Regions from separate parts of the Homo sapiens genome. Here regions 1 and 2 are each linked to region 3. Evidence: promoter capture Hi-C in 16 types of primary human blood cells and fetal thymus (Javierre and others, 2016). All regions are on one chromosome and are shown on one strand. Each heading gives the region's core, a stretch centred on a gene start or on the middle of the fragment in contact. The rest is flanking DNA. Distances are from core to core; before and after follow the strand shown.

Region 1 (4,181 bases), core at 1,012-3,511, 420 kb before region 3:
ATAATACAGTTAATGGTGGCTGCCTGTTTGGAGAGTAACTGTGATTAGAAGGCAAAGGTGGGGAGATTTACTTTTCACTGTATTTTTATCTTGTTGTGCCTTTTGATTTTGTACTCTTATTTATTACCTATTGGGATACTTAATGCTGACTCAAAACTCGACCAAGGCAAGCCAAGGACAATTTTGAGAAAAGGAGTCAGTGAATGAAGTCTGAACTGCCCAACGGCTCTGCAACACAACCTCCATGGTGGACATAATGGCATCAGGACATTTTAGCCTGAGAACTTTGAACATTTTCTAGAACAATCTCCTCTTGTTCCAACTCCAGGCTTTGCAAGCTCATGTGCCTTCCACATGGACCTGCCTACCACAAGCTTGTTTCACAGCCCCTAATAATCCAAACTATGTACGCAGCTTAGCAATTCAGGTTTTTATCGTTTTTAAAGGCCTGTTCTTAGTGAAAACAAAACAAAATAAGGACACCAAAAACAAGTTTCCAAGTCTGCAAAGCTGAAAGTCAGATACTAGACTGTGGCAAATCCAGCAAGGTAGTATTACTCTTTGAGACACGTTTAGGAAGGCAACCAAGTAGCTTCCCCTAAAGATAGTGCTTTCTTTCAATATGTATGTTAATAATGGCATAGCTACAAGGACAGTTCCTATTTTTTCTAATATTTCCCCCACCTCGTTGTATTAAGTTACTATTCTCTCGTTAACACTATTTTTGGCTTTCTATCTGCCACCATGGAAGAGGATGACAAGTTTGCTCTAAATTCTCCTGCAGATTACTGTTATTCATTGAGGGCCTACTATGAGGTAAGCACTACTCTAGGCGCCAAGAGAAATTCAAAAAGCAAATAAAACAATCTGGGTGAGCATAAAAGAAATCTGGATGAGGGGGAAAATCTGTACAAACTCAGAGGTACAAGGGCACGGAACACAGGAGCAGGCAAGGTCCTGATTAGATCTATGTAATCAGGTGTTGTTCTGCCACTTCTCTCCACAATATCACCATTCCCCTAGGCCCTCAATGGCCTTTAGCCACCTCCACTTTTTTTTTTTTTTTTTTTTTTTTTTTTTTTTTGAGACTGAGTTTCACTCTTGTTGCCCAGGCTGGAGTGCAGTGGCGCGATCTTGGCTCACCGCAACCTCCGCCTCCCGGGTTCAAGCGATTCTCCTGCCTCAGCCTTCCTGAGTAGCTGGGATTACAGGCATGCGCCACCATACCTGGCTAATTTTGTATTTTTAATAGAGATGGGGTTTCTCCACGTTGGTCAGGCTCGTCTTGAACTCCTGACCTCAGATGATTCGCCCGCCTTGGCCTCCCAAAGTGCTGGGATTACAGGCATGAGCCACCGTGCCCGGCCTAGCCACCTCAAATTTTTGGCTGGCCTCTGCCTTCTCACCGCATAGGCAGTCTGGAGGAATTGCTGCATCCTCTCCTTCCTCTTTTCCCTTGTGAGCTCCATGATATCCTTCCCAGCAGGAACAAATGGGATGCTGCATAACTGGCAGATATCTCCCGCCTTGTACCTTAACTAGAATTCCCCAAATTGGAGTCCCATATCATTCAACTTTTGCTGTAAGTTGAGTAAAGGGAATTTTCTGTACCTAGCTCATGAAAGATGCTTAGTCAGTATCTGCTCTGCACCCACAATAGGCAAGAATTGGAAAAATCTGAATTGTTGTAATGACGATTTCTATTAAATCTTATGTTTTGTATAACTCCAATTTTATGGGTTTTAAATGTGTTATCTGGAGGGAAAACAAGATTGGTCAAATACACAGAGAAAACACTGGGTTATACCAAGTTAAATGAGTTTCTTTACTGTAGGATTACTGATGGTACGTTTTTACTTCTATTTATTTTCTTATTTTTTGAGACAGGATTCGGCTCTGGAGTGGTGGTGTGGTCTTGGTTCACTGCAGACTCCGCCTCCTGGGCTCAAGTGATCCTCCCATTTCAGCCTCCTGAGTAGTTCAGACTACAGGCGTACACCACCATACCCAGCTAATTTTTCTATTTTTTTGTAGAGATAGGGTTTTGCTATGTTGCCCAGGCTGGTCTCGAACTCCTGGGCTCAAGCGATCTGCCCACCTCAGCTTCCCAAAGTGCTGGGCTTACAGGTGTGAGCCACTGCACCTGGCTTGATGATACACTTAATAAGTTAAAATGAACCTCAAATGAGAATACTGGGGGACTATTATGTAAAGCATTTCTCATATAATCTTTTGACTTTTTTTCACAGAGGATCTTCTAGGCCCTAATTGCTTCTCTGTAAGATGACTTACCTCATAGGTTAATATGAGGGTTGAATAGGTTAAGACACGTAAAATGCTTAGAACGATGCTAGGCATACAATAACCACTCAAGCAGAGTTAACTATGATTACCACTACATTCCCTCATGCTGATATTAAACACTACTCCCAGAAACATGAAATGAGAAAATTTTTACTTATGGAACAAGTCCTCTCTCTGCCTGAGAGGAATTGTTTTAAGGCAACAAATAATAGACAAAATTTACAGAAATAATCAATATACATAACATGCTTATCAATAAGAAACATATCTTATATACGCACAAAGTTTAAAAGGCTCTTAGGAGAAAAGTCTGGAGTACTCTGAAGGCTAAGGTAGCAAATACTATGTGCCAGTGACTACAGATATAGTCATAGTACGTACATGACTAGCACATATGAACAAAGTTTAATGAAAAAACCTAAGAAACGCATAGATAAGTGAATATTACCTTGAATAACAACCCAAATATTATTTGCTAATCACTATAAAACAACTGGGAAACCCATTACATGTTCATATATGTATGTAGGCTTTCTCGGGCACATTGGCCCATGCCTATAATCCCAGTACTTCGGGCAGCTGACGCTCCAGGAGGATCACTTGAGGCCAGAAGTTTGAGACCAGCCTGAGCGACATAGAGAAATCCTGTCTCTATAAAATATTTAAAAATTAGCCAGGTGTGGTGGTGTGCACCTGTAGTCTTAGCTACTCAGGAGGCCGGGGCAGGAGGATTACTTAAGCCCAGGAGTTTGAGAGTGTGCAGTGAGCTATGATCATCCCACTGCACTCTAGCCTGGGCCACAGAGCAAGACTCTGTCTCTTTGGGAAAAAAAAAAAAAAAAGTAGTTGTTGCCATATTTTGTTTAAGAGGTGTTAGAGGTATTTGGTTGAATTTATCTCCCAGATGTGTCACAATCTGAAATTTGCTTAAACAAATTCTACAAAGGTAATATGCATCTTACACAGAGATACAGTTCTTAAGTGAGATCTATTATAATTTATACAAGAATTTTATATAAATTTATACAGGAATTTCTGTCTAGTCATCTGGGCTGGTTTTAGAACTACACAAAATTTTCTCAGAACTGAGAAATGGCCAAGTACAGAGGCTCAAGTCTGTAATTCCAGCACTTTGGGAAGCCGAGGTGGGAGAATCACTTGAGCTCAGGAGTTCGAAACCAGCCTGGGTAACATAGTGAGATCCTGTCTCTACAAAAAAAAATTTTTTTTAATTAGCTGGGCATAACGGCACAGTCCTGTAGTCCCAACTACTCAGGAGGCTAAGGCGGGAGGTTGGGGGGTTGGGGCTGGAGTGAGCCATGATTATGCCACTGCACTCTAGCCTGGGTGACAGTGAGACCCTGTCTCAAAAAGGAGAAAGAACTGAGAAATGATTAGAAAGAAAAAACTAAGCTATGAAGAATTAAATGGGTTAGTGGAACTAAATTTTAAGGGAAAAAGTGTACATTTTATAAAAGTCAACTTCCCAGCTAACCCTGTAACACTGATGGTTAATTTTTCTGGTTTTAAAATACCAGGATTCCAAAGCTATAAGCTCACAACAAATCACTGCTTCTATAATCCAGTTTCTTCCCTTTATTTTATGAGCTATTTATTACAAATAACCTGGTAATCCTCACAGTAAAAAATTTTAGGACTGGGGCCAGCAAACTATGGCACAGGCCACATACAGCTTGCTGCCTGTTTTGTATAGCAGATGGCCAAGAATGGGTTTTTAAATTTTTAAAGGGTTGTAAAATAAAATGAAGAATATGCGACAGAGACCTTATGTGAAATGAAAAGCCTAAAATATTTCCTACTTGGTCCTTTATGGAAAAGCTTGCTGACCCTGCTCTAGAATAATATTTATTATAGCT
Region 2 (4,578 bases), core at 1,326-3,825, 350 kb before region 3:
TAGTGAGACCCTATCTCTACAAAATATTTTAAAAATTTTAAAATAAGAATTAGCCGGGCATGGTGGCACATGCCTGTAGTCCCAGCTACTCAAGAGCCTGAGCCAGGAAGATCTCTTAAGTCCAGGAGGTCGAGGCAGCAGTGAGCTGCAATCATGCCACTATGCTCCAGCTTTGATGACACAGCAAGACTCTGTCTCAAAAAAAAAGAAATTATTGAAATTTTATATATATATAATTTAATGTATTATGTATATAATTTGCTAAAATTATATATAATTATTAAAATGAAAAGTATATTTATAGATAGTATCATATACTTTTTATTTTTTGTATATTGTTACAAATTACAGTGTATTTGCTACAGGATGTCATGAACATGATTAATATTTTTAAAATTCTAAGTGATAGACTCTATACAGTACTTTGTACTGAGATGAGGAGATACTATGCAATTTTTTTTATCCCACAGGCAGGTTGACCAGCATAGTCTTTCTCCTCTGGAGGAGCTCTTGAAATAATTTCCAGGTCTCAGGGGACCTCTGTATAAAAATTATTTTATCTAAGCCCATAGTACATTAGCATGATCAGTAAGTTGTAGATATAACAATCCAATAATAATTGCCAATGCTCTTTTGAGTAGAGAATGATATCTTTTCCTGAAGATCTGTTTATTTTGGCTTACTTATTTGCCTATCTTTTTATGTGGTTCCTCCTCCCAAAAAAAGACATTATGTCTACTTCAATTTTTACCTTATCCAAGTAGGTCCCAAACTCTTATCACAAATTTCTACTAAATGAGATTCTACTGTGGTTGCTATGTCTTTTTAACCATCTGTCCCTGAAATAAAATCAGATAGTTAAGATTAGCTTACCTTTCTTGAAATGAATCTCCCTAGTGGCTTTTCATAAAATTTTAAAACTCATATAGTAAAAATAATACATTTTTGTTATACAGGCTTAAGACAAAATGAAATTTTTCTAAAGGTAGAAGGAGTTGATTTAATTTATATAAAGGTTGTAAATTGATTTTAATTAATGTTATTTACAACATGAAAATTTATTGAAAATGTTAAAAGAAAGTTAGTAAAACTGCAAAGAAAACAATATGAATAAAAATGGCCTAAGACTGTTTTAAGACAGTTTAAAAGCGTTTCCTTACTGAGTGACATGATCAGGCTGCCTGATACGGTTTGGATATTTGTTCCCTCCAAATTTCATGTTGAAATATGATAAAGTTGGAGGTGGGGCCTAATGGGAGGAGTTTGGATCATGGGAGCAGATCCCTCATGAATGGTTTGAGGCTGTCCTGGTGGTAATGAATGAGTTCTTGCTCTGTTAGTTTATACGAGAATTAGTTGTTTAAGAAAACACTGCCCTCCACCTTCTCTCCCTTTTCCTCTCTCACTTTGTGACATTCTGGGCCCCCTTCACCTTCAGCCATGATTGGAAGCTTCCTGAAGGCCTAGCCAGGAGCAGATGTTGGCATCATGCTTCTTGTATAGCCTGCAGAACCGTGAGCAAAATAAACCTCTTTATAAATTACCCAGCCTCAGGTATTCCTTTATGGCAACACAAAATGGACTAACACACTCCCATGTAGGCCTAGCAATTACAAAATTATTATATACATGTATTACTTTCTTGATCTCTTTAATTGGTCTATATAAAAGTATTAAAAGTGTATTAAACACTTTTTTTAAACTAAAACTAAAGAATGGACTCTACCCCTTAATTGAAACTTGTGCTTGTGTATTTGCTTGTCAAATACACAATTTTCAACATAAATATGACAATTTCAAATGCTTCTTAAAGAAGAAAAACCAGCCTGAGCAATATAAGGCGATCCTGCCTCCGCAAAAAAAAAAGAAAGAAAAATAGCCAGGTGTGATGGCATGCATGTGTTGTCTGAGCTACTCATGAGACTGAGGTGGGAGGATGGCCTGAGGCCGGGAAGTTGAGGCTGCAGTGAGCTCTGATCATGCCACTGCACCAGCCTGGGCAACAGAATGAGACCTTGTCTCAAAAAACAAAAACAAGAAAAAGTTTATTTACAAGTTTAAGAAGTTAAAAACCAACAAGGCATGGTGGCTCACGCCTGTAATCCCAGCACTTTGGGATGCCGAGATGGGAGGATCACCTAAGGTCAGGAGTTCGAGACCAGCCTGACCAACATGGAGAAATCCAAGTCTCTACTAAAAATACAAAATTAGTCGTGCATGGTGGCGCATGACTGTAATCCCAGCTACTCGGGAGGCTGAGGCAGGAGAATTGCTTGAACCCGGGAGGCAGAGGTTGCCAAAAGCCAAAATTGAGCCATTGCACTCCAGCCTGGGCAACAAGAGCAAAACTCCATCTCAAAAAAAAGAAGTTAAAAACCACCGAGGTGTTCGTTGCTTTCCCGTGAATATCAGAAAACTATTTTTTCATAGAAATCCAGTTTGTCAAGAGATAGATGAGTAAATCTCATCTTCAGTACATGATCAGACTGTAGCTCTATTTAAGAAAGTTGACTATTTTTGTCACATCATCCAGACTTTTAAAATTTCTTCTTTGACAGGCTTTGACACCAGCACCTCTCTATGAAGAAAAGAGTGTGTTGTGAACGAAGTCAGAATTTCCTGTGTTCCCTTTGCCGCTCCTGGAGTTCACTGGTGAGTCCTGTCAGTATAGATGCCCACATATTTCTTCCAGATCAGACCTTTTCATTCCAGATACAACGACAGAACATTAAATGCACCCGGGGCCGGGCACTGTGGCTCACGCCTGTAATTCCAGCACTTTGGGAGGCCGAGGCGGGCGGATCACCTGAGGTCAGCAGTTCAGACCAGCCTGACCAAAATGGAGAAACCTGTCTCTATTAAAAATACAAAATTAGCTGGGCGTCGTGGTGCATGCCTGTAATCCCAGCTACTTGGGAGGCTGAGGCAGGACAATCACTTGAACCCGGTAGGCGGAGGTTGCAGTGGGCCGAGATCGCGCCATTGCGCTCCGGCCTGGGTGACAGAGCGAGACTCCGTCTCAAAAAAAAAAAAAAAAAAAAAAAAAATTTATCCGGGATTTTGCTTGTTTGGGACAGCTCTTTGCACCAGAAAAAAAAAAAGTCTTGAAAACCACCTTGTTTAAAAATCTTACAAATGTTATGATATTAATTAGCCAGGTGTGGTGGCCTGTGCCTGTAGTCCCAGCTACTTGAGAGGCTGAGGCAGGAGAATCGCTTGGACCTGGGAGGCTGAGGTTGCAGTGAACGAGATCGCACCACTGCACTCCAGCCTGGGCAACAGAGCGAGATTCCATCTCAAACAACAACCACTAATGTTATAATATGACATTTATTGGTAAAATCTGTTGATTCATCAACCTACATAGAGAACCATTTGTTTCCGTTTATGGCATGTATCATCAATACGTTGACTAATGGTATTGAGAGAGAAAACTTTTCATTTTCGCATGCTACATCTTGTCCTAGTATTTTATGTTTGTTTGTTTTTAGAGACAGCATCTCGTTATGTTGCCCAAACTGGACTCAATCCTGGGCTCGAGCTGGCCCTAGCATTTTATTTACTCTAATTTAGGTTCTCATTACTGTGTGCATTTTCCTTTTCTGGACATTAAATAACTGCTACTAAATAGCTTGCTTCCTGAGGCTATTCACTGACTACGACTTTTTTTTGTTTGTTTGTTTTTTAACAAAAGCTTTACTGTCTTTCAATGTTCCAGTAACCACCGAAAATAATCTGCCCTTTTACTTGTCAAATGTCTGTGCTTTGGAGTTAAGAGTCTTTGCAGTTTTGCCAGAGCCATTGCTGGATGTGTAAGTTGTTTACCACAGACAATGCACAAAGGAATGGAACAATTTGGATTACCAGAGTTCCTTGTTGTCTGGTGTAGTAAAATGCTTCAAAGGATTAAAATTCTTGACTGGGCATGGTGGCTCTCATCTGTAATCCCAGCACTTTGGGAGGCTAACATGGTAGGATTGGTTGAGGCTAGTAGTTTGAAAACACCTGGGCAACATAGCAAGATCTCTTCTCTACAACAACAAGAAAATAACAAGGCATGGTGGCACATGCCTGTAGTCCTAGCTACTCTGAAGGCTAAGGCAGGAGGATCATTTGAGCCCAGGAGTTTGAGGCTACAGTGAGCTATAATTACACCGCTGCACTCTAGCCTGGGCGACAGAGTGAGACCCTATCCCCAAAATAAATAAATAAATAAATAAATAAATAAATAAATAAATAAATAAATATCGGTTAAAACTCTTCATCAACCCCATCAGAAGAGTCCATGGATCTAGGCCTATAATATTTTCTTCTGTCTCATACCTTGTCTTCAAAAATCACTGGATCACTAATAAAATATAAAATGGTAGAGCACAATAACAGCCACACGGGAAAAATTATTTACAAAATAAATGAAATTTTCGCTATACCAATTTAGTTCTAACCTATACAATCCATGCTTTCAGTGACCATTGCTTATGAATAAGTGAAATGAATGGACGCATGCTGTAAGGCGTGGGAGGGAGGCACTGGGAAAACCATTATAAGGTACTTGTACTGTGAAGCAGTACACTATTA
Region 3 (4,623 bases), core at 1,065-3,564:
CCACTTATAGGGAGTAGGGAACAAGCATGTGGTCACCTCTTCTTTATTTTCCCACCAACAGGGTCTCTTTGAACCACAGTAGTCCATCCCTCCGCTGCTCCCCCTGCAAGATGGGTAACAGCCTTTCTGACGCAGGGAGCATAGGTGAGGGGTATGGATGGAGGGGAAGGGAGGTCTCAGGAAGGTCCTCTGTGCTGGGTGCTGTCCTGATCTAGCTTTGGTGTTCTCTTTGCCTAGTAAGTATGGAAAGCTTTTCCCCGTGGAGCATTGTTTTACCCGTATAACCTTACCTTGAGTGAGATATGGTGGGGCCAGACACAGATCAAGAGAGAGAAGCTAGAAAGAGTTTTAGAGCTTTTTATATCCACAGTTTCCTGGAGAGATCACAGCACACCATGCAGGTCCACTCAGGGCCAGGGTCTGTCACAGAGAGAGGGAGAGAGGGGAATTGTGGACAAACATCTTTATCATGGTTTCTGAGGGAAGGAAAGAGTGAAATAAGGCAAGCAGATATAGGATAGGCTAATTTGGATAATTTCAGCGGGTTCTGAAGTACAGGGGCTGTAACTAGTTGTTTGGTGCCTAGCCCTGGACAGGTGTATAGTGTCCCGCGTGTGAGAGCCTGCTAACGGAAGTGGTTGGGGGTATGCAGTTAATAGACTGCTGGAGAAGGGGAACTGACCAGCCTCCAGCCTGAGCCTCAAAACTGGGTCAAGGCAGCATGAAAAAACTGCTACATTACAGCTATTTTATGGGTTCTTTGGAGACCTGAGATATGAGAGCATGTCTCATCTGCAGTCCCTTTGTTGTCCGTGAAGTCTTTCTTCTGACTATATCAGGCACACGCACGCACAGATTCTGCTACATCTGAGAGTACTAAGCTGTCTCCTGCGCTTCTCACATCTGACACTGAATTATACATGACACCATCATCAGCAAAGGACAGGGCGCTGGGAGCACCACGCAGAACCTAAGCTATTGGAGGGTGGGAAAAGCAGCAGCAGAGCCTAGGAGTAGAGGACAAAGCGTTTCCAGTGTAACAGAATAATGTACTATCTGCGGCCGGGACTAGGGTGAGCAGAGTGAGGCGCTCAGTGAGGGTGCAACATTTAAGAGGTGCCATAAAATTCAGCAACTAAAATACATAATAGGTGGCTCACTCCTGTAATCCCAGCACTTTGGGAGGCCAAGGCGGGCGGATCACGAGGTCAGGAGTTTGAGACCAGCCTGGACAACATGGTGAAACCCCGTCTCTACTAAAAATACAAAAATTAGCTGGGCGTGGTGGCGCACTCCTGTAATCTCAGCTACTCATGAGGCTGAGGCAGAAGAATCGCTTGAACCCGGGAGGCGGAGCTTGCAGTGAGCCGAGATCGCGCCACTGCACCCCAGAGCGAGACTCTGTCTCATAAAAAAACAACAACAACAAAAAAAACCACCATAATATTTAATACGGTATTTTAAAAAATACATAAAAACGTTTATATAGGGTGCACAAGTTCCCTTTTGCCTAAGAGTTCAACGTGGCTCAGCGGGGCACTGGTGCTAAGCAGTCGCAGCTTCTAGTCTCCTCCTAGGGCCCGGAGCAGCCCCCAAGGAAAGGCCTTCCCTAGGAAGAAGTAGCCCTTCAGCCCAGCCTAGAAGAAGGAGCTGAATCAAACCAAGGCAGGACGATGAGGCGTGGCGTGTACTGACAGGGAAGAAGAAACAGCAAATATTTGAGTCCAAGATGCCTGGAGGGAAAAGAGCTAGAGGACTATTTGGGGGAATGGTCTTGGCAACACGGTTCTAGGCAGGTACCACGATCATATAGGGACTCTGTAGAATTTTAAGTAGGGAGGCAAGCGCCCAGGTTTGTTTCTTATGCAGAAAGTGCTGAGCAACGGACAGACTGAAGAGGTTAGGTCTGGATCCAGGTAAACCCTTTATGAGGCTAACGCACTAGCTGAATGAGGGATGACAGCATCCCACCTAGACAGGTGCAGACAGATTCCCGAGGTTCAGGTTCGGACTTCAGTTTCTCCGCTGGAACGCTGAGGGTGGGGCAGCACCCGGGTCCCTGCCCTGCAAACGGGGCCGCTGCAGGGTTCCTTTGGCGGGGCCGGTGCCCCGGGGAGCGCGCAGGACGCGCCCGCCTTCAGCCGGGGGCCAGGGCGAGCGGGACGGGGCGGGCCCGCGGGTGCCCTGACCAGCTCACCGCCCAATCGCTGCGGGCCCGCCGAGCCCCGGGGGGCTGGGGCCGCCGCCGCCGCCGCCAGAACGTGCCGCGGCTGCGCCAACGCGCGAACGCCGGGCAGGGCGGCGGGCGCGCTCAGTCTGGCGGCGGCTGCCGTGAGCTGACTGACGTTCCGGGAACGCCGCAGCAGCCCGCGCCGCCCGCAGCCTAGCCGAGCCGCGCCGCCCGGGCCTCGCCCGCCCGCCTGCCCGCCATGGTGTCATGGATCATCTCCAGGCTGGTGGTGTAAGTGGCCTTCTCCCCCGCGCCCCTCCGTCCCCTCCCTCCCCGCCCCCGGCCCCGGGCTGCGCGCGCCCCTACAGCGCCCGGTCCCAGTGGCTCGGGCTATTAATACCCGGCGCAGCTAAATTTAGCAGGTACAGTAGCCGCCGAGGACGCCTGCGGGCGGACGGGCGGCGCAGGACGCGGCTGCTGCCCAGGAGGCAGCCGGCGCCGGCGGCCGCTTGCGGGGGGCTGGGCCGGGACGGCGAGGGCTGGGGCGCTCGGGGGTTCCGTGGGGGCTGCGTCTCGCCGCGCGCTGGCCGCTTTGTTCCTCAGCTCGGTCGATTTGCAGAGGCCCCGAATGGGCGCACCGCGGACACGCGTCTCTCTCCTTTGGCAGAAATGTGAGGTCGCCCGGCGCCGCGCCCCGCCGCCCCAGCTTTTGTCAGGTGGAAAGGACAGCGCAGACGAACCAGGGGCGCTGCCTGGAGGGTCAGCGCGGAACGGGTGGAGAGGCAGAGGCGGGGCTCCCAGTGGGGTTGGAAAAATCCTCCTTTTTAGGTGTCTGCATCGACAGCGGCAAAGGCAGCTGGGACATGGGAAGACGCATGTGAATCTTGGAGTAAACGCCTGGAGCCCCCGGCTCCGACTCCTTTTGCAGGGGATTGAGAGACAGGGGCAGGTACCTCCAGGAATGCACGGGAAATTTTCAAGTGACAGCCACCCGCATGGTGGCGATGACACCTCCCAGGCCTTGCAGGAGAGCGCAGAGTCATCTAGGGTGAGGTCTGTGTGAAGTCATTGGGGGTGGGCGTGGGGGCCGATTTTCTCCTTCAAGCCCCAGGACCTGTAGGCGTTTGAAGAGCTTCCCCGGTGGATTTATTCTCCTTTGGAGATAGACGTGGCTGTTCCAAGTCCCTGTTCTTCCCTAACCATCCTGGCCTGAGTCAGAACAGATTTGCCACCTGCTGTAGCTAGCAGGGGCTGAAATGGGTGTGGGGAGTCTAAGGCGGGGAGGAGGGTGGCAGGCACCTCGGGCTTTTTCTTTGTCTGAGAACACGGGGCTCTGGACCCCAGTGATTGTGCACCATCACTCCCCACGTTTTGAAACACCACCCATCTCCCTTCCCTTCTTTACTGATTTTCCCTTCCGAAGTGGATCTCAGCATTGTCTCCCGCCACCATTCAGGGCTTTCCTCCCAAAGCCAGTGTCTGTGCCTCTCAGCCCCCAAGTCATTCCGTGAAGGCCTCTCCACAGCTGTTCCTGACTGCGGGGTGTTTGCGCTGCACCTTGAGGTGGCATGTTAAATATTTAGAAGATTTCTGCTGGCAGAGCCGACATGAATAATACAGGAAAGTGGCTGACACGCCTTGCCCAGCCTCATGCCTGACCAACACTGTCTTGCCTTCAGGGTGGTGTTTCCTCTCTGGGATCGATATTGCCAGTGGCTTCTGGGAAGCCCTCAGGGTGGGGCTGGAGAGTTGAGCTGGCCTGGCTGGTGGGCTCTCTGTAGGTCCTGCTGGGCTGGGAGTGAGGGCATCTGATCCTGGGTCATGTGACTATCATTAGTTTTATTAGCACTGGGTCATGTGACTATCATTAGTTTTATTAGCACCTCCCTCACCCCTGCCCTTTTTTTTTTTTTTTTTTTGAGACCGAGTCTCGCTCTGTCGCCCAGGCTGGAGAGTGCAGTGGCACAGTCTCGGCTCACTGAAGCCTCCGCCTCCTGGGTTCAAGCGATTCTCCTGCCTCAGCCTCCCGAGTAGCTGGGATTACAAGCGCCTGCCACCACGCCCAGCTAATTTTTGTATTTTTAGTAGAGACGGGGTTTCACCATGTTGGCCAGCCTGGTCTTGAACTCCTGACCTAGTGATCCGCCCGCTTCGGCCTCCCAAAGTTCTGGGATTACAGGCGTGAGCTACCACGCCCGGCTCCTCCCCCTTTTTTACAATGAGCAACTGATGGGGGTGGAGAGGAGAGGCATATATTTGGGAGGTGTCTCAGGGATGTGCTGTTGCTTTCTAAAACAACCACACTCCCTAGAACCGAGACTTCAGAGAATTTAAATGAACAGCATTATGTGGCCCAAGGAGAGTTGATGGGATTTGGGATTGTTACTTCCACTATCAAGTCCAAAAGGTCAGGGATACCACTTATCCCCCAGTCCCTAATTCCCTGTAGAAAC

Evidence for each region. The method cuts DNA at HindIII sites, captures the fragments that hold promoters and counts their contacts. A CHiCAGO score of 5 or more calls a contact.
Region 1: a fragment that was not itself captured here is called in contact with the fragment with the promoter of REEP1 in region 3 in 2 of 17 cell types (endothelial precursors and neutrophils); the score reaches 5.7 in endothelial precursors.
Region 2: a contact is called between a fragment that was not itself captured here and the fragment with the promoter of REEP1 in region 3, in 1 of 17 cell types (total CD8 T cells). The highest score is 6.2, in total CD8 T cells.

What each region holds. Positions count from the first base shown.
Region 1 is chr2:86,754,078-86,758,258 of GRCh38, reverse strand. The region is part of intron 4 of RMND5A (required for meiotic nuclear division 5 homolog A); the gene reads right to left. Among named protein-coding and RNA genes, the nearest start is that of CD8A, 35 kb to the left of the region's middle. The HindIII fragment of the contact is 3,769 bases long and covers 377-4,145 here.
Region 2 is chr2:86,686,306-86,690,883 of GRCh38, reverse strand. It overlaps RNF103-CHMP3 (RNF103-CHMP3 readthrough), which reads left to right. Exons shown (of 8, transcript NM_001198954.1): 2 at 2,559-2,652. Among named protein-coding and RNA genes, the nearest start is that of RMND5A, 32 kb to the left of the region's middle. The HindIII fragment of the contact is 2,243 bases long and covers 1,454-3,696 here.
Region 3 is chr2:86,335,317-86,339,939 of GRCh38, reverse strand. REEP1 (receptor accessory protein 1) reads left to right here and starts at 2,314. Exons shown (of 9, transcript NM_001371279.1): 1 at 2,314-2,461. The coding sequence starts at 2,430. The HindIII fragment of the contact is 12,312 bases long and covers 253-4,623 here.